Regions from separate parts of the Homo sapiens genome. Here regions 1, 2, 3, 5 and 6 are each linked to region 4. Evidence: promoter capture Hi-C in 16 types of primary human blood cells and fetal thymus (Javierre and others, 2016). All regions are on one chromosome and are shown on one strand. Each heading gives the region's core, a stretch centred on a gene start or on the middle of the fragment in contact. The rest is flanking DNA. Distances are from core to core; before and after follow the strand shown. Region 1 overlaps ZMAT3 (zinc finger matrin-type 3). Region 2 overlaps LOC124906307 (a long non-coding RNA gene). Region 3 overlaps ZMAT3 (zinc finger matrin-type 3). Region 4 holds the start of MFN1 (mitofusin 1). Region 5 has its middle 10 kb from the start of ZMAT3. Region 6 overlaps ZMAT3 (zinc finger matrin-type 3).

Region 1 (4,142 bases), core at 477-2,976, 290 kb before region 4:
AACAATATCATTTGAATCTGTGTTAAATTCCTGATTTTGACAACTATACTGTAGTTATGTAAAATGTTAATGTTTGGGGAGTCTGAATAAGGTGCATACAGGAATTATTTGTACTACTTTTGGAACTGTTTTGTAAGTCTAAAATAATTCAAACTAAAATGTTGATAAAATAAAAATAAAACTCGGCCAATGCCACAATTGTCCAATGCAGAGCTGGGACAATCTGGTTCCACTGCACCTTGGGACCACTCAACACTGTCAAGGACTATCTCAGGTACCAGGAACTATTCTAAATGCCCCACACATACTAACATGCAGATATTATTAGTATCATCCTCCTCATCATCATCTCCTTCTTCATGAGGCAGAGAAGGGTTAGGAAATGTTTTCGATATCATACATCTAGCGAGTAGTAAGACCACAACATCAAATACTAGTCTGACCTCAAAGTCCGCGATTTCAGGTTCTTAATATCCTATAAAACAGATGCTATGAATTGAGAATAAAAAATCTGGAAGTCTTATTTATTTAAATCTGTGTTAATTTCCTGATTTTGACAATTGTACTGTAATTATGTAAAATGTTAATGTTTGAAATGTAACATTAAAATTTAAAAATTAAAAAATTCAATATGAGGCTACCCTCTTTGGGTCCCCTCCCTTTGTATGGGAGCTCTGTTCTCACTCTATTTCACTCTATTAAATCTTGCAACTGCATTCTTCTGGTCCGTGTTTGCTAAGGCTGGAGCAGAGCTTTCGCTCACCATCCAACACTGCTGCTTGCCGCCATCGCAGACCCGCCGGCGACTTCCATGCCTCCGGATCCAGCAGGGTGTCCACTGTGCTCCTGATCCAGCGAGGCGCCCATTGCTGCTCCCAATTGGGCTAAAGGCTTGCCATTGTTCCCACACGGCTAAGTGCCCGGGTTCATCCTAATTGAGCTGAACACTAGTCACTGGGTTCCATGGTTCTCTTCCATGACCCACGGCTTCTAATAGAGCTATAATACTCACCACATGGCCCAAGATTCCATTCCTTGGAATCCGTGAGGCCAAGAACCCCAGGTCAGAGAACACGAGGCTTGCCACCATCTTGGAAGTGGCCCGCCGCCATCTTGGGAGCTCTGGGAGCAAGGACCCCCCAGTAACATTTTGGCAACCACAAAGGGACCTCCAAAGCGATGGGAAACATTCCCCCCAAGGCAAAAACGCCCCTAAGATGTATTCTGGAGAATTGGGACCAATGTGACACTCAGACGCTAAGAAAGAAACGATTTATATTCTTCTGCAGTACCGCCTGGCCACAATATCCTCTTCAAGGGAGAGAAACCTGGCTTCCTGAGGGAAGTATAAATTATAACATCATCTTACAGCTAGACCTCTTCTGTAGAAAGGAGGGCAAATGGAGTGAAGTGCCATATGTGCAAACTTTCTTTTCATTAAGAGACAACTCACAATTATGTAAAAAGTGTGGTTTATGCCCTACAGGAAGCCCTCAGAGTCCACCTCCCTACCCCAGCGTCCCCTCCCCGACTCCTTCCTCAACTAATAAGGACCCCCCTTTAACCCAAACGGTCCAAAAGGAGATAGACAAAGGGGTAAACAATGAACCAAAGAGTGCCAATATTCCCCGATTATGCCCCCTCCAAGCAGTGAGAGGAGGAGAATTCGGCCCAGCCAGAGTGCCTGTACCTTTTTCTCTCTCAGACTTAAAGCAAATTAAAATAGACCTAGGTAAATTCTCAGATAACCCTGACGGCTATATTGATGTTTTACAAGGGTTAGGACAATCCTTTGATCTGACATGGAGAGATATAATGTTACTACTAAATCAGACACTAACCCCAAATGAGAGAAGTGCCGCTGTAACTGCAGCCCGAGAGTTTGGCGATCTTTGGTATCTCAGTCAGGTCAACAATAGGATGACAACAGAGGAAAGAACAACTCCCACAGGCCAGCAGGCAGTTCCCAGTGTAGACCCTCATTGGGACACAGAATCAGAACATGGAGATTGGTGCCACAAACATTTGCTAACTTGCGTGCTAGAAGGACTGAGGAAAACTAGGAAGAAGCCTATGAATTACTCAATGATGTCCACTATAACACAGGGAAAGGAAGAAAATCCTACTGCTTTTCTGGACAGACTAAGGGAGGCATTGAGGAAGCATACCTCCCTGTCACCTGACTCTATTGAAGGCCAACTAATCTTAAAGGATAAGTTTATCACTCAGTCAGCTGCAGACATTAGAAAAAACTTCAAAAGTCTGCCTTAGGCCCGGAGCAGAACTTAGAAACCCTATTTAACTTGGCATCCTCAGTTTTTTATAATAGAGATCAGGAGGAGCAGGCGAAACGGGACAAACGGGATAAAAAAAAAAGGGGGGGTCCACTACTTTAGTCATGGCCCTCAGGCAAGCAGACTTTGGAGGCTCTGCAAAAGGGAAAAGCTGGGCAAATCAAATGCCTAATAGGGCTGGCTTCCAGTGCGGTCTACAAGGACACTTTAAAAAAGATTATCCAAGTAGAAATAAGCCGCCCCCTTGTCCATGCCCCTTACGTCAAGGGAATCACTGGAAGGCCCACTGCCCCAGGGGATGAAGATACTCTGAGTCAGAAGCCATTAACCAGATGATCCAGCAGCAGGACTGAGGGTGCCCGGGGCGAGCGCCAGCCCATGCCATCACCCTCACAGAGCCCCGGGTATGCTTGACCATTGAGAGCCAGGAGGTTAACTGTCTCCTGGACACTGGCGCAGCCTTCTCAGTCTTACTCTCCTGTCCCAGACAACTGTCCTCCAGATCTGTCACTATCCAAGGGGTCCTAGGACAGCCAGTCACTAGATACTTCTCCCAGCCACTAAGTTGTGATGGGGAACTTTACTCTTTTCACATGCTTTTCTAATTATGCCTGAAAGCCCCACTCCTTTGTTAGGGAGAGACATTCTAGCAAAAGCAGGGGCCATTATACACCTGAACATAGGAGAAGGAACACCCATTTGTTGTCCCCAGCTTGAGGAAGGAATTAATCCTGAAGTCTGGGCAACAAAAGGACAATATGGATGAGCAAAGAATGCCTGTCCAGTTCAAGTTAAACTAAAGGATTCCGCGTCCTTTCCCTACCAAAAGCAGTACCCCCTTAGACCCGAGGCCCAACAAGGACTCCAAAAGATTGTTAAGGACCTAAAAGCCCAAGGCCTAGTAAAACCATGCAATAGCCCCTGCAATACTCCAATTTTAGGAGTACAGAAACCCAACAGACAGTGGAAGTTAGTGCAAGATCTCAGGATTATCAATGAGGCTGCTGTCCCTCTATACCCAGCTGTACCTAACCCTTATACTCTGCTTTCCCAAATACCAGAGGAAGCAGAGTGGTTTACAGTCCTGGACCTTAAGGATGCCTTTTTTGCATCCCTGTACATCCTGACTGTCAATTCTTGTTTGCTTTTGAAGATCCTTGGAACCCAGTGTCTCAACTCACCTGGACTGTTTTACCCTAAGGGTTGAGGGATAGCCCCCATCTATCTGGCCAGGCATTAGCCCAAGACTTGAGCCAATTCTCATAATACCTGGACACTCCTGTCCTTCGGTACGTGGATGATTTACTTTTAGCTGCCCATTCAGAAACCTTGTGCCATCAAGCCACCCAAGCACTCTTAAATTTCCTCACTACCTGTGGCTACAAGGTTTCCAAACCAAAGGCTCAGCTCTGCTCACAGCAGGTTAAATACTTACGGCTAAAATTATCCAAAGGCACCAGGGCCCTCAGTGAGGAACGTATCCAGCCTATACTGGCTTATCCTCATCCCAAAACCCTAAAGCAACTAATAGGGTTCCTTAACGGGTTTCTGCCGAATATGGATTCCCAGGTACGGTGAAATACCCAGAACATTCTATACACTAATTAAGGAAACTCAGAAAGCCAATACCCATTTAGTAAGATGGACACCTGAAGCGGAAGTAGCTTTCTAGGACCTAACGAAGGCCCTAACCCAAGTCCCAGTGTTAAGCTTGCCAACAGGACAAGATTTTTCTTTATATGTCACAGAAAAAACAGGAATAGCTCTAGGAGTCCTTACACAGGTCCGAGGGATGAGCTTGCAACCCGTGGTATACCTGAGTAAGGAAATTGATGTAGTGGTAAAGGG
Region 2 (3,949 bases), core at 1,095-3,594, 340 kb before region 4:
TTGTTCACTTTCTTTCTTGTTGGTATAATTTTTGCTGAGAAAAAAAAATGTAAAACTTAATTGGTTTTTGGAAGGTTTAAAATCTTTCCAAATGGTTGCTCTAAGACTTGCTTTCCCATTTACTTCTACTCCTTCCTTTTTTGTGACATTCAATACCACATGAAGAGATCTAGAGGGGACTTCTGGTGGCCCTGAGACTGCTTGAAGAACACAGAAAGAAGCAGCACATACCCCTTTGTTAGTGAAATGAGAGAGTTCCCTGACCCCCTCGCAGGACATGTGACAGGGGTGTGGCTTGTCTATTCGGTTGCTGCTGCTGCTCAAACCCCTTATGGGATGGGGAGCATGTAGATGGACAGGTGCAGAAGCTGGAGCACTGGGCTTCAGCCTCACAGCAGCGTCCAGGAGTGGGAGTCTGTGACTCCCAGATCCCAAGTTGGCATGTGTTACAGTCCACTCTTTTAGCCTTGCCATCCACAGACAGCTTAATTGTTAACCAGTGGACCCTCTGCCTTTTTACAACGGCAGAGGGCCAGTGTGACAGCTTTCTGTATCCCGACAAGAGTCCAGCATCCCAGAAGAAGTGGGACACACATGGACTTGAAGGATGGTGAATTTGGGGTTTTATTGGGTGGTGGAGGTGGCTCTCAGCAGGATAGATGGGGAACTGGAAAGTGTATGGAGTGGGAAGGTGATCTTCCCCTAGAATTGGGCCATCCAGCAGCCAATTCTCCGACCATCCCCAGCTGAACTCCTCCTGACATTCCTTCTCTTCTCTCCTTCTCTGCCGCTCTTCTGCTCTTCTGTTCGTCTGCTTATCTCCTGCTGGATTCAGGGGTTTGGGGTTTATATGAGTATAGAATACGGGGTGTGGTGGGCGAAAAGACAACTTTTTGGACATGAAAACAGGTATGCCTGTTCCCATTTAGGGCAGCAGGTATCCAGGCTTGAGGATGGGGCCTTTGCAGGGCAACTGCCCTCTTCTACCCAGTATTTCCTCGTCTCCTGTCCATATCATTAGGGTCTTCTGTATTCCTCATGGAACCCCAAGAGTCCTGGGCAGGCTGCTCTCAGGTCTAAAGCTCAGCTCCGTTTTGCATTGAGTTTCCCAATCTCCTTGGCTTTTAGGAATACCAGGGGTTACTTTTTACTGTGAAAGAACACTTAACCTTTGGGTGTTGGATGGCTGATAGGTCACTGCAGTTTTAGAGGTGGCTGACAGTTGTTCAGTGAATGGTTATTACTGAAGTGAGGCTAATTGTTTGAGTATTTAGATAAGAAAAGCACAGTTTGGACACTTGGAGGCTGTAGGAACACTTGCTATCAAGGTATAAAATTCCCATGGGGGATAGGCTGGTCACGGAGTGGGCTAATTGGCATTAGGTTTCCCAACAGCCTCAAAGAAAATGTCCTTGCAATGAGGTCCACTGTAGAATTGTTGCACAGCCTAGCCCCATGACATTTCCCTCTTGGCCTTTTGCCTCAGCTCTGGGGCACCTGGGATTCAGTGTAAAAATGGGATCCTTGGTTTCTGGGGATCTAGGTGCTCTGCCTTCCAGCTAAGCCTGCTTTCTACATATAAAGTACTGGGCCCTGAAAACTACAAAAGCCTTGTAAGCCCTATTCACTGCCCTGAGCTCCATGGTACAGTAAAAACACAGAAACTAAATTGGAAGTTACGAATCTAACTAAAATTGGTCTCCTTATAAAGTATGTGATGAATTCCTATGATTTTGTGTTATCTTGATATCTATTTTTAAACTTCTTCTGTGTCTGTAATGCACACCCAAACTTTTTCTTGAAAAAGCTTAAATTCTCTTTTGTTTGACAGTAAATTTGCTACCCTGTTTCCTTTAAACTTAGTAGGGACTTAAACCATGTGGCATAGATAAATTTTAACTTGTTACATTTACAGAGGCACAGTTTAATCCAACAGTACTTTTAAACTAGGGAGTTTTACCTGTCTCACGGCAAAATTTGAAAATCAAATCTATAAAATCTGTGTTTGTCTGCATTTTTATGTATACATTTGTACATTTTTGTGTTTATATATAGTCTACATGGTACAAAATTGACATAAATGATCCCTCATAAATTCAGTAAATAAGTCCAAATGATTTTCAAGTTCACATGACTAGCAATCTTAGATAAATACAGCTAGTTTTTAAATTGTTGGTATAATAAAATAGAAATGTCTTCAGAATTTTAAGCATTTTTGCATGGTTCTACCGGTCAAACCAATTTATACTGTCTCTACTACATGTTTTAAAGTCATAAAACTTTTGCTTCTGTGATTTTTTGACTTTATTTTTTGTATTTGTACAAATTTATGGGGTACATGAGAAATTTTGTTATATGTATATATTAGCAATCAAGTCAGGGTATTTAGAGTATCCACCACCTGAGTATGATACCCTTTTGCTAATACAGTCATCCTACTCTGCTATCAGACATTATAGAATAGATTATATATATATATAAAATATATCTTACTGTATGTTTGTACCCTTTAGCCCACTTCTCTCTATCCTCTCCAGTTTCCCTCTCCCTACCATTCCCTTCTCCCTACCACTTCCCTCTCCCTACCATTCACTCTTCCCAGCCTCTGTTATGTGTTTTTGTACTATACCTCCATGTATTCAAATTGCTTAGCTCCCACATTTTGGTAATTATTTGTCAGTGTGCTAAAGCTATGTGGGCTGGTTTCTGGGCTCCCCCAAATCCTTGCATGCAACTTCCTGTGAGTTTATGTCCTTGATTTTGAGCCTTTAGATTCTGGAGTCTAGACAGGTGGCCATGGTGAGGCCTGGGGAAATATGTGTGTCACCAATGTCTGGGCTACAGAACAGAGCTAAGCCCACTATGGCCCCATCTTTCCTGGCCAAGCTTGGTCTCCTGGGCAAGTTGGGAAATGTTGAATCCTTCAGGCATTGTTATCACAGCTCTGTCCTCTGTCCTGGGCTCTCCATCTGGTACACAACAATGGAAATTTCTAACTTTCTTGGTTTTTCACTGGAAATGAGGGTTACTCATTAGTAGTAGTTAAAATTATAGTTAATATATATAATTTAAAATATTAGATATAAAGAAAACTATATATATACACAGATATAAAGAAAACAATATACAGATATAAAGAAAAAATATACAAGATAGGATGTGTTTTTGGCAGGGAAGTTTATAAATGAGACATAAAGATGTAGTTTTTGTTCATGGAAATGCAATTTTGTCTAGTTTAGAGGTTATTTAAAGGTTATTTCACATTGAAGGAATAAAAGAAGAATGATATAGATAAAACAGAATGAGGATAGGAGGCAGAGTAAGATGGCAGAATAGAAGGCTTCAATGATCGTCCCCCCGACAGGGACACCAATTTAACAACTATCTACACACCAAAAAGCATCTTCATAAGAACCAAAAATCAGGTGAGCATTCAAAGTACCTGGTTTTAACTTCATATCACTGAAAGAGGCACCGAAGGGTAGAAAAAACAGTCTTGAGTTGCTGACACAAAATCCCTCCATCCCCCAGCAGTGGCAGCGCAGTGCAGAGAGCATTTCTGTATCCTGGGGAAAGGAAGAGCACAGCGATTATGAGGCATTGAACTCAGTGCTGCCTTTCTTACAGTTGAAAGGAAAACTGGACCAAACTCAGCCAACATCCACCCACAGAGGGAGCATTTAGAACAGCCCTAGCCAGAGAGGTATCGCTGATCCCAGTGGTTGGAACTTGAGTTCCCACAAGCCTCACCACCATGGGCTAAAGTGCTCAGATCTAAATAAACTAGAAAGGCAGTCTAGCCACAAGGACTGCAACTCATAGGAGAGTCCTACTGCTGAGCAGGGCCCAGAGACAGTGGACTATGGGAGTATGTGACCTACTGAAACACCTACTAGGGCAACTAAGTCAGTGCTGGCATCACCTCTCCCCTAAACCCAGGTTGAACAGC
Region 3 (4,063 bases), core at 436-2,935, 330 kb before region 4:
TGAGGATACACAGCCAAAATGAGCCATCAACAAAAGCAGTATAAATTTTAAATAAGTTTCAGATTTCTATACTCAATATGCTAAAGAAAATAAAACCGAAAGAGTAGTTTCAATTTCACAATTCACAGTTGATTGGTTTTAATCCCATGACACGTTTGTCATTCTGCAGCCCCAGAACACAGACTTCCAAAGCAGTGACTGGCACTCCGACCCAACAGCATACACAGATCTTAAGCCTCTGTATGACATTTAGAGAAAATTTTAATAAACAACCCTAATTACACACAGTTTGGGCTGACATTTTTTAGCTATATCCTTTATCAAAGATAGTTCTAGTGAAATAGCAAAAGCAGTTTTAAAAGTTTGCCATGCCATTCAATAAAGGGTTCTAAAGCCTCCCTTGGTTTTACATTTTATTCTCTAATTTAAAACAATAACTGCATTAAAATGCAACCTTAATGGTGAAAGCAAAATCGGTTTTGCTTCTGAATCTAGAGCATATTTCCAAGGAGAAGCAACTTATTGTCCCAGCAGATATATGGAATGCTTTAAAGCAGGATCTGACATACTCCAGTAAGGCATTTCAAAGCAGACACATCATACCCAAACTAAATCATTATGGTCAGTCAAGGATACCACAGGTGAACACCAAGTAACGCAGAGTTAACGTGAAATTCTTACAAATGACACACGATTTACAAAACCCCAGAAAGGTACTCAGGTACCAAAAGAGGGCAGAACAATGACCAGCCACTCCAAAAGAGTTTTGTTCCTATACATGCCATATTTGCAGAGTAGAAACAAACTGCCCTATTTGCGCTTTGCCCTAGGATAATATCACTCATTCTGACATGTGGAGTTACTCTTCCTTAAAAAAATATATCATGTAGAGAATACACAAATAATAATAAATGATATAGAACATTTATTATTTTCACTAGTGAGGGGGTCACTTAAGCACTTACAAAGACTTATAAATGAATCATGAAGGTCATCAAAATGCAAAAACATCCAATAAATGTTGCATTATTAGTATTCAACAGTGCAGCAAGATTTTTAGCAACTGCGTCGGGCTTAATTTGGAACTATGGCCATGAGAATATGTTTAAGTTCAAAGAACTGCCAGATGTCTAAAAAAAAAAGTGTAATTAGTAAAAATATGGATTTTCCCTCCAAGGGCCCAAAGGAAGTGTTCAGTTACTTTGGAAGCCATGAATTTTATCAAACACACACAAGAATATGAATCTGGAACATTTCAATTCTGATTCAATTCTACCCATTGAATCTTCATGACCTGGAGAAAGTCACTTAAAATTCTTTAGATTTTATCTAAAGAATCTTATCCACAAAAAGTGGGCATAAAAATAAAGGCATATGTAAAAATAATTTTTTCTAAACATGACTACAATAAAGCTAAAGATGGTTACTAAGGCTTACAATTTCAACAACTCATTGTACAGTACAATCATTTTTAATTCTGCTAATTATAGCTGGAGGAAGTGTGGATAATTACAATTCTCAAGGAATTCAAATCAAATTCTTTAGAAAAATTAATAGTTTCAACTTACTAAGCTACTTAATCTGCTCTCCTAGAGTTGTTTAAAACAGCTAATTATATAGGGGTTTGACCCTTTACTCCCCTCTACCTTCTGGTAGAGCAGCTGAAAGTAGTGAAAGGAGAAGTGACAAGAGGGAGAAAAGCAGCAACAGATTGAAATGAGGTATTCGCTGATTTCATAAACCCCAATCAGTAATTTACAGTTTTTTGAAGAAGCTGCATAGTTTGGCAAAAATACATTATCAGAAGTGGGGAAAAGAAAAATTATATTGAAACTTTAAAATTTATGACAAGCACTTAAAAATGACCAATTCTAAAATAAACTTGTGTTTGAAAGGAATTGTCCTCCCTCACCCTAAGTACACACAAAAAGAGAAACTGGAAGACAAAAGTCCACAGGAGGAAAAAAAAAAAAGTATGTTAATTGGCTCAGATTATCAACTTCATACACCACTTTCAAAATAGATATTTAAACGAATACTAAACCTTAATTAATGACACCCATGCTAAGAATTTAGGGCAGTGTATTGCCTAAAATTTACTTTGGAATGTTCTTTAAAAAAAAAATCTGATGGATCGATGGATGAAAAGAGGGATAGAGAATATGAACAGATACATGGCAATACAAGTATAGTCAAATGTTGATGGCAGAATCTAGCAGTGGTTATACTGCAAAGTTTTTTCAACTTTGATATATGTCTGAAAATTTTCTTGAGAAAATGTTGAGGAACATGTTAACATTTCTATAATAAAATCAGTCTAGCAGGGCGTTTCTAAGATTCTAAGTAGTCAGGCAATTTAGAATTTTAAATTAATTAAACTAGGGAAAATTTTGCTTTTAATGGCTTCAAACCTGATTTGTGAAGATGCTTCATTTAATATAGAAATGAACTAACACAATTAATAATTATTGTGCCAGTCTCTTCGCTTTAGCTGCAAATACATAATTTTTCCCCTCTCTACAGAAGACAAGTTTGAAAATGACCACTAGAATAAAGAATTTTTCCAAACATCAGTGTCAAGCTCTTCCAATCAACCACACTGCCATTCACTAAGTACAAACGCAACACAGATCAAGGTGAAAAATGATCTCTGACTTCTGCCAGCTTGGGAAAACTGGATTCATTTTCAGAATGTATGGTTTCTGATCAATAATGACAATAGTTTTACTTGATATCAAATTGACATTTATTTAAAAAAGGGAAAAAAAAGACGTAGAACAGAATTCACACAGACCTTTGTTATTCCAAGCTCCTATTTATGAATGGTGATTAATAGCAATAATTCTGTCTCTCTTCTCTCTGTGAAATGCTAACACTTGCTAAAGGCACTCAGATTCTGGGCTTAACGGAGACAAGGTCACATGGGACCATAAGCCAGTACGTTTTTTGGTAGCTACCCAGAAAGGAAGTTTACAAATGTTCCTCCCATTCATAACGGGAAGAAAAAGTCAAACAGCTATCAGTAGAAGCGTTTTATGAGAAGCTATTTACACAGCTATTTGTCCATTCAGCCAGAGTGACAGTAACTGCTCACAATGGTAGGGGTTCTCCCCTGCCAAGAAAGCAAAAACAATAACAAAACACTTTTTATCATATATGAAACTCCTGTACAATGATTTGGCTAGAAGAAAAAAATAGTTGGTAAGGTCAAATTTGTTTTAAAACATCTGTTCAAAAGCCTGCATTAAACTTTTATCTGTCCTGACAAAACATGTCTCAATTTCTTTCTAAAGCAGCTCTATTGTCCTAGCATATGCCTCACCAAGTTCTTTAAAGGGCATTTCCAACCTTAGTTCTGACAATGAAGACACAAAGTAGGTTAGGTTCCAAAACCACCCTTCCTAGCCCTCCCTGTAGAAAATACCATGTTGCACAGTTACATGTGTCCCCTGACACAAACGACACTCATTTTACGTAGGTCACTGGACCTCAAACTGTTGTTGCTTGCTGTCCCAGCCAATTCAAGAGTGAAGGAAGATGTAACCAGACATACATATCTCCCTTTCTCCCTGTTCAAACTGTAGATAGGTAGCTATAAGCAAGCATATAGTTCTGTAGAAAAGCTTTCTAAAATGAGGTGGAAGATCTCGTGCTTCTTGTTAGCTTTTTAAGTCAGGGGAATGTAAGGATGATGTCAAATAGCCACGATTCTTCTTTTAAACTCAGGGCTTCAAAAATCCTACCTGGTTTTCTAAGTTTACCAACTAATTAAAAGGTCAGTGAAGAAGAGTTGGAGGAGGAACTTTTTCCAAATAAATGGTATAAAAAAATTATTCACCTTGCAGAATTTAGTGCAATAAGAGACAGGCAGACAAACATAAACAACATGCACATATTTACAAGTTGCAGGACATGATGCACAATGTGAAGACCAACAAAGTATTTTCAAAGCATCTTCAGTGCACTCAAAAGGATTACAGGGCACACTCAGTTTAGTAACTGAACTTTTTTTACAAAACCACTTCAAAGGTATATGCAATCCAATCTTTTAGTTGAAACACGA
Region 4 (3,616 bases), core at 16-2,515:
GCAGAAAGACAGCTTCCACTCCCTGCGATTTCATCCCTGACCAATCAGCACTCCTGGCTCAGTGGCCTCCCCCAACCCACCAAATTGTCCTTAAAAATTCTGCTCCCCAGTGCTGCTCGGGGAGACTGATTTCAGTAATAATAAAACTCCAGTCTCCCATACAGCCGGCTTTGCGTGACTAAGTCTTTATTTGCAATCCCCCTGTCTTGTATCAGTTCTGGCTAGTCAGCGGGCAAGGTGAAGGCTTTCCTTGGGCGGTTACCATCCGAAGCTTTAATTTTAAGTATAATGGCAAGCTGTTGGAAAGCTTTTTTTTTTTTTTTTTTTTTTTTTTTTTTTTTTTTGAGATGGAGTCTGGCTCTGTCGCCCAGGCTGGAGTGCAGTGGCGCGATCTCGGCTCACTGTAACCTCCGCCTCCCGGGTTCAAGCAATTCTCTGCCTCAGGCTCCTGAGTAGCTGGAACTACAGGCGCCCGCCACCACCACGCCCGGCTACTTCTTGTATTTTTAGTAGAGACGGGCGTTCACCGTGTTAGCCAGGATGCTCCCGATCTCCTGACCTTGTGATCCGCCCGCCTCGGCCTCCCAAAGTGCTGGGATTACAGGCGTGAGCCACCCCGCCCGGCCTGGAAAGCTTTTTAAGTTCGGAAAGTAATACGATCTGGATTTCTTTTCTTTTATTTATTTATTTATTTATTTGAAAAAATGTCTCGCTCTCTTGCCCAGGCTGGAGTGCAGTGGCACGATAAATCACAGTTCGCTGCAGCCCCGGGCCCAAACAATCCCCCCGCCTCAGTCTCCGAAGTAGCTGGGACCACAGGTGTGTGCCACCACGCCTCGCTAAGTTTTTAAAATTTTTTTAATTTTTCATTTTTTAATTTTGTAGAGACGGGGAGGAGGAAGAGGGTCGGGGGCGGGGGGGGGGGCGCCTCCCTATGTTGCCCAGCCTAGTCTCGAACTCCTGGGCTTAAGAGATATCCCACCCCTTCGGTCTCCCAAAGTGCTGGGATTATAGGCGTCAGCCACCACCATCATTGGAAGCTAGCTAAGCCTAGGCTGGGCAGATACTTGGACACTTTGAGGGGAGAAGGGAGGGGAAGAAGTTGGAAGGGGGAACGGAAAACCACTCTCCTGGTAGCAGTCTCTGCCCACAACAAACCTTGCCTTCTGCCCTTAAGGAAAATGGCGCCTGGCATAGATGCGCTTCCGGCCACGGAGCCAAACAGAACAGAGGAGGCAAGAGGCCGGAAGTGACCGCCCTTTGCCACTCCCCCTGCCTCCTCTCCGCCTTTAACTTCTCGGGAAGATGAGGCAGTTTGGCATCTGTGGCCGAGTTGCTGTTGCCGGGTGATAGTTGGAGCGGAGACTGTGAGTGCCGGCTGCCTCGACAGCACGTTTGCGACGCTCGGAGTGACCTTCGAGCGACTGGGGACCGGGGGCGGGAGTCGTGCATGCAGCGTTGTGTGACGAGGCGCCGCCCGCCGCGGTCCTGTGGGAAAGGAGAGAGCCAGCTGTCGGGCGAACGGGGCTGGCGGCCGAGTCGAGCCCACGGAGCCCACGAGGCCGTGCTCGGGGGTGGGATTGGGGGATCCGGACCTAGACGGTCGTGCGCGGGGCGGGGGTGGGCTCTGGCCCTGACTCCTGCGCCCGGTGTGGGAAGGTGGGAGGCCTTTTCTAAGGCAGGTGTTCACACCGGCCGGACCGGGGCGTTACCCCCACCCGGCTTTTCCCACGCAGCTCCTTCGCGCGGTCATTTCTTGACTCTCTGGAAGAATCCGCCTTCTTTATGGCCACTGTTCCTTTCCATGTACACACCAGGATTAGACCGTGATTGTTTGTCTTTGGTGTCTTTTTCTTGAGAAACCACCTATGCTTTCTTAAACTTATAGTCCTTGAAGTTTCTGGTACTTTGGCTGGAAGCGTTAATGCCCTCTTGAAGCCTTACCTTTCTAAATGTCAGCCTCACATTGTGATCTTAGAATTTTATTTCCTCACTCTGCATATCCACTCCTACTCACCTAGAGCTTCAGGTTGAGAAACTTAGTAACTTCCTTATTGTGTGTGAATTTGGCTTCGCCTCACTAACCCTGTTCCCTGATGTACTTTAGAGTCACATGCAGTGACAAACTTAGTCACAATTAGTTTCGTCTTCACCAAAGGGAAATTGAGTAGAAATTGCAACCAAGATTTTGGCTAATAGATTTCACTTATTTTAGTGAAATATCATTCAAAAGTCGTCTCTAACTGTCTGACTAGAACACTCCCAAAAAAGAATTACCTAAAAACATTTTGCCAGCATAATTTATTTCATTGGGGAGTTGATGAATGTCACTGGTGTGTCATCAGTTTGCATGTCTATCATCCACTTTAGTTGGTGCTTTTCTAACTTTATCTCCCTCTAGTAGCATAATGGCAGAACCTGTTTCTCCACTGAAGCACTTTGTGCTGGCTAAGAAGGCGATTACTGCAATCTTTGACCAGTTACTGGAGTTTGTTACTGAAGGATCACATTTTGTTGAAGGTTAGTTCTTCTTAAGTTTTTAAAGTAATTACTGTTGAAAATATATAAAAGTGCTTATTCTTTCAACGTTAGTTATTGAACACATGTATAGGGCATTATACTGTATACTATGAGAAGTACCATAATGAATAAAACCCCTTTCTAACCTCCAGAAGGGGAAAATTAAATGGTATTAATAACAACTAAGAACTTTAGTATATTAATAGCTCATTTAATTTTCATCACCACTAGGTGATGAGAAATAGCTATGTTAATAGTTCATTTAATTTTCATCACCACCATCTGTCATTTTAAAGATGAAGAGACGAAGTCAAAGAAAAGTTAAACAGTTTGCCCAAGATCACACAGCTAATAAGTGCCCAGACAAAAAATCAGGCAGTCCACATTTAACCATTATACTTGTCTCCTCCCCAATTTAGCAGTTAAGCCAAGACCTCAGACATATCTCATTCTCTCAAATGAGGCTGAATTGCAGTGGAAAGGGGGAAAAAGGAGTTTCATAACTGTTAAAGGTGATGAGGAATGTCATGTCTTACTAGGGAATACTTCTTTTTTTTTTTTTTGAGACAGAGTCTTGTCTTGTTGCCCAGGCTGGAGTGCAGTGGCATGTTCTTGGCTCACTGCAGCCTCCACTTCCTGGGTTCAAGCGATTCTTCTGCCTCAGCCTCCCAAGTAAATGGGACTACAGTGCACGTGCCACCATGCCTGACTAATTTTTGTGTTTTTAGTAGAGACAGGGTTTCACCATATTGGCCAGGCTGGTCTCGAACTCCTGACCCCATGATCACCTCTCTTGGCCTCCCAAAGTGCTGGGATTACAGGTGTGAGCCACCACACCCGGCCAGGAATCCTTCTTTGGAGATAACTGTTGAAATTTTTTCTGGTTCTTAAGATTATGTACCTCTCGGCCAGGCGCCCTGACTCACACCTGTAATCCCAGCACTTTGGGAGTCCAAGATCGGCAGATTACCTGAGGTTAGGAGTTCAAGACCAGCCTGATCAACATGGTGAAACCCTGTCTGTACTAAAAATACAAAAATTAGCTGGGCCTGGTGGCAGACGCCTGTAATCCTAGCTACTCAGGAGGCTCGAGGAG
Region 5 (3,998 bases), core at 130-2,629, 270 kb before region 4:
ACTTGTGAAGACGAACTGCTTGCTCTTTTAGAGACCCTTGCCTCACTGAAACTGCCCTCTGGAGGGGCCCACATGGCATGTGACCTTAGAAGTAGATCGTCCAAGTTCCAGTCAAGCCTTTAGATGGCCGCCTCCTGACTTGACTGCAACCTCATGAGAGACCCTGAATCAGAACCATCCAATTAAATCAGTCCCAGAGACCTAACCACAGAGACCATGTGAGGTAATGAATGTTGTTATAAACTGCTAAGCTTAGGGTAATTTTGGGGTTTTTTGTTTTTTGGTTTTTTTTTGGTGGGGGGTTGTTTGTTTTTTGAGACGGTGTCTCGCTCTGTCACCTAGACTGGAGTGCGATGGAGCGATCTCGGCTCACTGCAACCTCCATCTCTGCCTCAGCAGAGGCAATTCCTCTGCCTCAGCCTCCCCAGTAGCTGGGATTACAGGCACCCGCCACCACTTCCAGCTAATTTTTTTGTATTTTTATTAGAGACAGGGTTTCACCATGTTGGCCAGACTGGTCTTGAACTCCTGACCTCGGGCAATCCACCCATCTCGGCCTCCCAAAGTGCTGGGATTACAGGCGTGAGCCACTGTGCCCAGCCAGCTTGGGGTAATTTTTTAGGCGGAGATTAATATAAGTCCCCCTACCTTTTTGTGACTCTTTAAACTATGTATACAGATTACTTCGTTAAAAATGTGTATCTCTCATTCCTAGTTTTTTGTTTGTTTTATTTTTACTTTCCTTGCTTAGTATTTGTTGTTTATACTTCTTGATTAACTTTAGAATCACATTGTCAAATTCCTCAACTTCCATTGCGATTTCAATTGAATTTTGTCAAATCTATACATACATTTGTGGATAAGTTAAAATTTTACACTATTCTCTTTCCTACCACTGTACAATGATTGAAGACTTTCATGCTCTTCACTAACATTTTGTGATTTTCTTCATTGTATGTACAATATTTAATGAAATTCTAAAAAAAAAAGCATTTTCTTTTATGTAATATTTCTGGCATAGAGAAAAATTACCAAAGTCTTGAATTATATTCAAGTGTTTAAAATACTTTATTGTCTACTTGTACTATTGCTAAAATTCTACACTCTTCCTTGTGGACAGGTCTATCAATATACAAGAGAGAAAATGAATATTTTTAATACAATAGCAATCACATTTCTTTTCTGTATCCTGTGAGTTATATGATTATCCAATTTAGGTCTTATGATCTGAAAGCAGTAGAAATAATTAGCAACTTTCCTAAAAACTGTATTCCTTTTCTGATCCAATATTCTTTTCCCTCTCTCAACCTACACAACTTCTCTGCTACTTCTAAAATTACTAGAGTTAACTTTTGTTTTAATTCTGTGTCTCTTATTCAAATTGGTTAGCTTTCATTGTTGCTTTGCCATTGACATCGCTAGTGTGAACTTAATTTTGTATACCCATTATGACAAAGAAAATCAAACCATATTTCCCTTTGACCTTTTACGCTTGCAGTCACAATACTATTTTGAGGAAATGCTTGTTCATTATGCATACATACATTCTTATCTGCATCATTTTGTGTATGTGTTTATCAGTGCTGTCCAACAACGAGAAGAATGATACATTTATTTAATGTTGGAATGTAAGGATACTACAGTAAGAGCCTACTATGCCAGGCACTATACCCTAGCTAGGTACTCTAGCCAGGGCTTTTATACCCTAGCTCATATCATCCTCATGTTGACCTAAAGAAAAAAATGATGCAAATTTAATATAAGTAGAGAGTTTAATTGGGGCAAGTTTGAGGATTGCAACCTGGGAGCAGAGATTCATGTTGCCCTGAATATATGTTCCAATTAGCAGCAGTTACAAGTAGGCTTATAAAGCAGAAGAGGCAGTTCCTAAGTTGTTTACCAAGAATTTACATTACAAAACATGAGAGCCAGTGAAGTGGCTCACATCTATAATCTCAGCTACTCGGGAGGCTGAAGTGGCAGAATCCCTTGAGGCCAAGAGTTTGAAAGCAGCCTGGGCAACATAGCAAGACACCATCTCTAAAAAAAAATTTTAAGCTGTTGTTTGACTATACATTGTTCTTTGTAACACAAATTCCAGAACATTGAGATAGTGAGTGAGGCAGCTAGTCAGGAACAAATGCCTTTAAATAACTGCCCCAGGCACAAGGGGGTTAGCGCATGAATGACTGAAGTCCCATATTCATGTTGTTCTTGGCCTAATAAGTTTTGTACACCTTGCATAGCTCAGACTGCTCTGAGATATTTTTCTTTTCTCAGTCACAATAATTCCAGTGAGGTAGATATTATTTTACTTATTTTAGAGATGATTCTGAAATGTTAGGTTACCGTTCAAAGTTATTCAGCTTACATCTCCCTGTACCTTTGTTTCTACTAGATCAGAGCTTCTCAGACTTGAACATGCATGCGAATCACCTGGCAATCTTTTTAAAGTACAGATAATGTCTCAGTAGTCTGACGTTGGGATTGTGATTCTGCATTTCTAACAAGCTTCCAGGTGATGTCACACTTTGAGTAGCAAAGCATAGATCACAGTGAATTTAAGGCAATGTGACTCATTGGAAGGATTACAAACTTTGGAATTTGAGCATCTGAATTCAAATTTGAATGCAGGTACTTAAGGCCTTCTGACTTAGCATGGAACTTCACTTCCCTAATCTAAAATGCAGAAAATAAGACCAGCTTCATAGGATTGTTAGGTTGAAAAAACAATGTATTTCCAGTACCTGACATGTAGTAGAAGCTCAATATTGATTTGTCTTTCCTTGGGAGATTAGAATGTTGCTATAAATCTTCTAGTTATTCAATATGTATGTTTTTTGTGACAATGACAGAAACACACTCAAATTGATTTGGTCCAAAGGAATGGAAAGACCCTGGAGATTCTCTAGTAGCCCTACTATAGGGAAGGCAGCTGGGAACCTGGAAGTGAGGACTCAGATGCTGCCTGGAGTCTCTCTTGCTCTTTAGGAGTTGTTTCTTTCTTAGGGCAAACAGAGTTCACTCTGCTTCACTGCAGCCTTGGTTCTCCCACAAGGAAGGAAACATGGGTGCCCAGAGTTCCCAAGGCTTTCAGCTCATGACTTCCACCCTCAGGAAAGACCGAATCTCATTCTGTTCCAAACTTAACAACCTTGACCCAGAATTTGCTTGAATAAGAGTAGGTCAGATGTCCATGCCTGGATCCATCATCTCTGGTCAGAGGGACAAGCTCAGAGAAGCAGGTCTTGCTGTGAAGTACCAGCTACTTCAATTGGTCAGCTGGTGACAACTATACTGACTGACATTTAAGTGCTGGAAGGAAAAACTGAACTAGGTGTCAGGAACCTAGGTAGATGTACTGATTATGCCACTCATTTCTGAAATGATTTTGGATAAATCAATAGCTCTGGGCATCATCTTTATTTGCATAATAAATTATTTGGATTAGATTATATCTCAGTCATAGACAAATATAACATTTTATGAATCTCTCTCTCTCTCTCTCTCTCTATATATATATATATATACAGATGATAGAAATGTAGGATTTCTTCAAGTTTAAATGTAAGCTGCTTAAAAAAAATCTACAAAATGGCACATTGCCCTTTAGTATTTTCCAAACTATTGAAGAATGACAGTTATGCCTGACAAAGTCCTAGAGGTCCATACCAGTGCTGATGTTCTTTAATGTCAAGGTGACTTACAAGTTGCATTTGAAAAAAGAGTGCACTTGAAGTTGATAGAACTCTTTATGATTTGTTATAACTCTGGCCTTTACTGTCAAATTAGTTTTTCTTTTCAAGCAAGGCAATCCCACCCTCCCTCTGCTTAACAAAACAAGGGCTTGAAACAACAACCACAGGTAATAGAGGCATGTCTACAGTTGAAGTTTCATCTAGAAACATATGAATAGAGAAAGGTTCATTGGTGTCCAAAAAAGTGGCCATTACTTTAGGGGAATCCATCACCTCATTCATGTATTCATTCATTTAACA
Region 6 (4,132 bases), core at 149-2,648, 310 kb before region 4:
AGGCTGAGTGGGCGGAGTGAGCTCGGTGGAATGAGGCCCCAGGCAGAGGACACAGCACCCACAGAGATTTCCGGCTGGTGAAGCAGCACCAAAGGAATCCTTACACTGCAACCCTCCCTCCTGCTCACTGAGCAACGGGGAAAAAAAGCCAGTGTGCCATTTCCTCCCGCTTGCTGAACTACAAAAGCTGCAACATTAGCACTAAGGAAGTCAAGGCTAAGAAGGTTTAGAAGTCTTCTAAAAACAGGTGAGAATTTGAATCTACAACTCTGGCGGAAGATAACAGGGTTAAATAGTTACTGACTACCCTCTATGTTCTGGCAACCATTCTAAGAAAAGGAGATAAAACAGTGAACAAAGGCAAAGTCTCTGCCCTCAAGAAGCTTTTCTAGGGGACATAAACAGAATATATACATGTACATATATATATGTACACACACACAACCAAAGAAAAAAGAGTTACTGACAACTGCTCTGCAAAAAATAAAACAGGATGATATAATAGATAATGGACAGGGAGAGAGTGGGGTGGGCCGACAAGGCTTTTCTGGGGAGATACATGTCAGCTAAAAGCTGAAGCATGAGATGGCTCCAGCCATGCAATGTAGAGAAAGGGGGAAGAGCTGGGCATCAAGAGACCCACTTGCTGTGTTAAGTCTGAGATCCCTTTCAGATGTCCAAAGAGAGACCAACCTGGAGTTTACGAACGAGGTCAGGTTAGAGATAGAATCTGAGGAGTTATCAGTATGTAGGTGGAATTTAAAACCATGGAACTAGGGCCAGGCACAGTGGCTCATGCCTATAATCCCAGCACTTTGGGAGGCTGAGGCAGAAGGATCACTTGAGTCTAAGACTTTGAGACCAAACTGGGCAAAATGACAAAACCCCATCTCTAAAAAAAGAAAAATGAGGCAGGCATGGTGGTGCAAACCTATGGTCCCAGCTGCTGGGAGCACTGAGATGGAAGGATCAGTTAAACCCAGAAGGTTGAGGTTGCAGTGAGCCATGACTGCAATGCTACACTCCAGCTGGGTGACAGAGCGAGACCCTGTCTCAAAAAATAAAATAAAATACAAGATGGCCAAATAGGAACAGCTCTGGTCTGCAGCTCCCAGCGTGATCAATGCAGCAGACGGGTGATATCCGCATTTTGAACTGAGGTACCTGGTTCACCTCACTGGGACTGGTTGTACAGTGGGTGCAGCCCACAGAGGACGAACTGAAGCAGGGTGGGGTGTTACCTCAACCGGGAAGCCAAGAGGTCAGGGGATTTCCCTTTCCTAGCCAAGAGAAGCCGTGACGGACTGCACCTGGAAAAACAGGACACTTCTGCCCAAATACTGCGCTTTTCCCAAGGTCTTAGCAACCGGAAAACAAGGAGATACTCTCCCGTGCCTGGCTTGGCAGGTCCCACGTCCACAGAGCCTCACTCACTGCTAGCGCAGCAGTCTGAGATCAAACTGCAAGGCAGCAGCCTGGCTGGGGGAGGGGCCTCAGCCATTGCTGAGGCTTGAGTAGGTAAACAAAGTGGCTGGGAAGCTCGAACTGGGCAGAGCCCACCACAGCTCAACAAGGCCTACTGCCTCCAGACTCCACCTCAGTGGGCAGGGCTTAGCTGAACAAAAGGCAGCAGACAACTTCTGCAAAGTTCAATGTCCCTTTCTGACAGCTCTGAAGAGAGCAGTGGTTCTCCCAACATGGTGTTTGAGCTCTGAGAATGGACAGACTGCCTCTTCAAGTGGCTCCTTGACCTCCATGTAGCCTAACTGGGAGACACGTCCCAGTAAGGGCCAACAGTCACCTCATATAGATGGGTGCCCCTCTGGGATGCAGATTCCGGAGGAAGGATCAGGCAGCAATATTTGCTGTTCTGCAATATTTGCTGTTCTGCAGCCTCCGCTGGTGATACCCAGGCAAACCGGGTCTGGAGTGGACCTCCAGCAAACTCCAACAGACCTGCAGCTGAGGGACCTATTAGAAGGAAAACTAACAAACAGAAAGGAATAGCATCAACATCAACAAAAAGAACGTCTACACCAAAACCCCATCTGTAGGTCACCAACATCAAAGACCAAAGGTAGATAAAACCAAAAAGATGGGGAGAAACCAGAGCAGAAAAGCTGAAAATTCTAAAAATCAGAGTGCCTCCTCTCCAAAGGATCATAGTTCCTCACCAGCAATGGAACAAAGCTGGACAAAGAATGACTCTGACGAGGTGACAGAAGTAGACTTCAGAAGGTCAGTAATAACAAACTTCTCCAAGCTAAAGGAGCATGTTCGAACCCATCGCAAGGAAGCTAAAAACCTTGAAAAAAGGTTAGACGAATGGCTAACTAGAATAAACACTGTAGAGAAGACCTTAAATGACTGATGGAGCTGAAAACCATGGCATGGGAACTTCGTGACACATGCACAAGCTTCAATAGCCAATTCGATCTAGTGGAAGAAAGGGTATCAGTGATTGAAGATCAAATTAATTAATGAAATAAAGCAAGAAGACATGGTTAGAAAAAAAGAGTAAAAAGAAATGAACAAAGCCTCCAAGAAATATGGGACTATGTGAAAAGACCAAATCTACGTTTGATTGGTGTACCTGAAAGTGATAGGGAGAATGGAACCAAGTTGGAAAACACTCTTCAGGATATTATCCAGGAGAACTTCCCCAACCTAGCAAGGCAGGCCAACATTCAAATTCAGGAAATACAGGGAATGCCACAAAGATACTCCTTGGGAAGAGCAACCCCAAGACATGTAATTGTCACATTCACCACGGTTGAAATGAAGGAAAAAATGTTAAGGGCAGCCAGAGAGAAAGGTCGAGTTACCCACAAAGGGAAACCCATCAGACTAACAGCGGATCTCTCGGCAGAAACCCTACAAGCCAGAAAAGAGTGGGGGCCGATATTCAACTTCCTTAAAGAAAAGAATTTTCAACCCAGAATTTCATATCCAGCCAAACTAAGCTTCATAAGTGAAGGAGAAATGAAATCCTTTACAGACAAGCAAATGCTGAGAGATTTTGTCACCACCAGGCCTGCCTTACAAGAGTTCCTGAAGGAAGCACTAAACATAGAAACAACCGGTAACAACCACTGCAAAAACTGCCAAATTATAAAGACCATCGATGCTATGAAAAAACTGCATCAATTAATGGGCAAAACAACCAGCAAACATCATGACAGGATCAAATTCACACATAACAATACTAACCTTAAATGTAAATGAGCTAAATGCCCCAATTAAAAGACACAGACTGGCAAATTGGATAAAGAGTCACAACCCATCAGTGTGCTGTATTCAGGAGACCCATCTCATGTGCAAAGACACACAGAGGCTCAAAATAAAGGGATGGAGGAAGATCTACCAAGCAAATGGAAAGCAAAAAAAAAAAAAAAGCAGGGGTAACAATCCTACTCTCCGATAAAACAGACTTTAAATCAACAAAGATCAAAAGAGACAAAGAAGGGCATTACATAATGGTAAAGGGATCAATTCAATGAGAAGAGCTAACTATCCTAAATATATATGCACCCAATACAGGAGCACCCAGATTCATAAAGCAAGTCCTCAGAGACCCACAAAGAGACTTAGACTCCCACACAATAATAATAGGAGACTTTAACATCCCACTGTCAATATTAGACAGATTAATGAGACACAAGGTTAACAAGCATATACAGGACTTGAACTCAGCTCTGCACCAAGCAGACCTAATAGGTATCTACAGAACTCTCCACCCCAAATCAACATAATATACATTCTTCTCAGCACCACATCACACTTATTCTAAAATTGACCACATAATTGGAAGTAAAGTATTCCTCAGCAAATGTAAAAGAACAGAAATCACAACAAACTGCATCTCAGACCACAGTGCAATCAAATTAGAACTCAGGATTAAGAAACTCACTCAAAACTGCACAACTACATGGAAACTGAACAACTTGCTCCTGAATGACTACTGGGTAAATAACGAAATGAAGGCAGAAATAAAGATGTTCTTTGAAACAAATGAGAACAAAAACTCAACGTACCAGAGTCTCTGGGACACATTTAAAGCAGTGTGGTAGAGGGAAATTTATAGCACTAAATGCCCACAAGAGAAAGCAGGAAAGATCTAAAATTGACACCC

The links. The method cuts DNA at HindIII sites, captures the fragments that hold promoters and counts their contacts. A CHiCAGO score of 5 or more calls a contact.
Region 1: a fragment that was not itself captured here is called in contact with the fragment with the promoter of MFN1 in region 4 in 1 of 17 cell types (total CD4 T cells); the score reaches 5.4 in total CD4 T cells.
Region 2: a fragment that was not itself captured here is called in contact with the fragment with the promoter of MFN1 in region 4 in 2 of 17 cell types (non-activated CD4 T cells and total B cells); the score reaches 5.2 in non-activated CD4 T cells.
Region 3: a fragment that was not itself captured here is called in contact with the fragment with the promoter of MFN1 in region 4 in 7 of 17 cell types (fetal thymus, total B cells, naive CD8 T cells and 4 more); the score reaches 10.7 in fetal thymus.
Region 5: a fragment that was not itself captured here is called in contact with the fragment with the promoter of MFN1 in region 4 in 2 of 17 cell types (monocytes and non-activated CD4 T cells); the score reaches 5.5 in monocytes.
Region 6: a contact is called between a fragment that was not itself captured here and the fragment with the promoter of MFN1 in region 4, in 1 of 17 cell types (naive CD8 T cells). The highest score is 5.2, in naive CD8 T cells.

What each region holds. Positions count from the first base shown.
Region 1 is chr3:179,053,956-179,058,097 of GRCh38, forward strand. All of the region lies in intron 2 of ZMAT3 (zinc finger matrin-type 3), which reads right to left. Among named protein-coding and RNA genes, the nearest start is that of ZMAT3, 16 kb to the right of the region's middle. The HindIII fragment of the contact is 4,552 bases long and covers 1-4,002 here.
Region 2 is chr3:179,000,619-179,004,567 of GRCh38, forward strand. LOC124906307 (a long non-coding RNA gene) reads right to left here. Exons shown (of 3, transcript XR_007096179.1): 1 at 3,443-3,949. Among named protein-coding and RNA genes, the nearest start is that of ZMAT3, 69 kb to the right of the region's middle. The HindIII fragment of the contact is 1,079 bases long and covers 1,806-2,884 here.
Region 3 is chr3:179,017,317-179,021,379 of GRCh38, forward strand. It overlaps ZMAT3 (zinc finger matrin-type 3), which reads right to left. Exons shown (of 6, transcript NM_022470.4): 6 at 1-4,063. Among named protein-coding and RNA genes, the nearest start is that of ZMAT3, 52 kb to the right of the region's middle. RefSeq lists an enhancer at 1-91. The HindIII fragment of the contact is 3,871 bases long and covers 1-3,621 here.
Region 4 is chr3:179,346,444-179,350,059 of GRCh38, forward strand. It overlaps MFN1 (mitofusin 1), which reads left to right and starts at 1,266. Exons shown (of 18, transcript NM_033540.3): 1 at 1,266-1,367; 2 at 2,402-2,520. The coding sequence starts at 2,409. RefSeq lists enhancers at 975-1,504, 1,838-2,057 and a silencer at 1,558-1,717. The HindIII fragment of the contact is 3,693 bases long and covers 632-3,616 here.
Region 5 is chr3:179,080,081-179,084,078 of GRCh38, forward strand. No RefSeq gene overlaps it. Among named protein-coding and RNA genes, the nearest start is that of ZMAT3, 10 kb to the left of the region's middle. The HindIII fragment of the contact is 2,260 bases long and covers 250-2,509 here.
Region 6 is chr3:179,037,522-179,041,653 of GRCh38, forward strand. All of the region lies in intron 2 of ZMAT3 (zinc finger matrin-type 3), which reads right to left. Among named protein-coding and RNA genes, the nearest start is that of ZMAT3, 32 kb to the right of the region's middle. The HindIII fragment of the contact is 2,034 bases long and covers 382-2,415 here.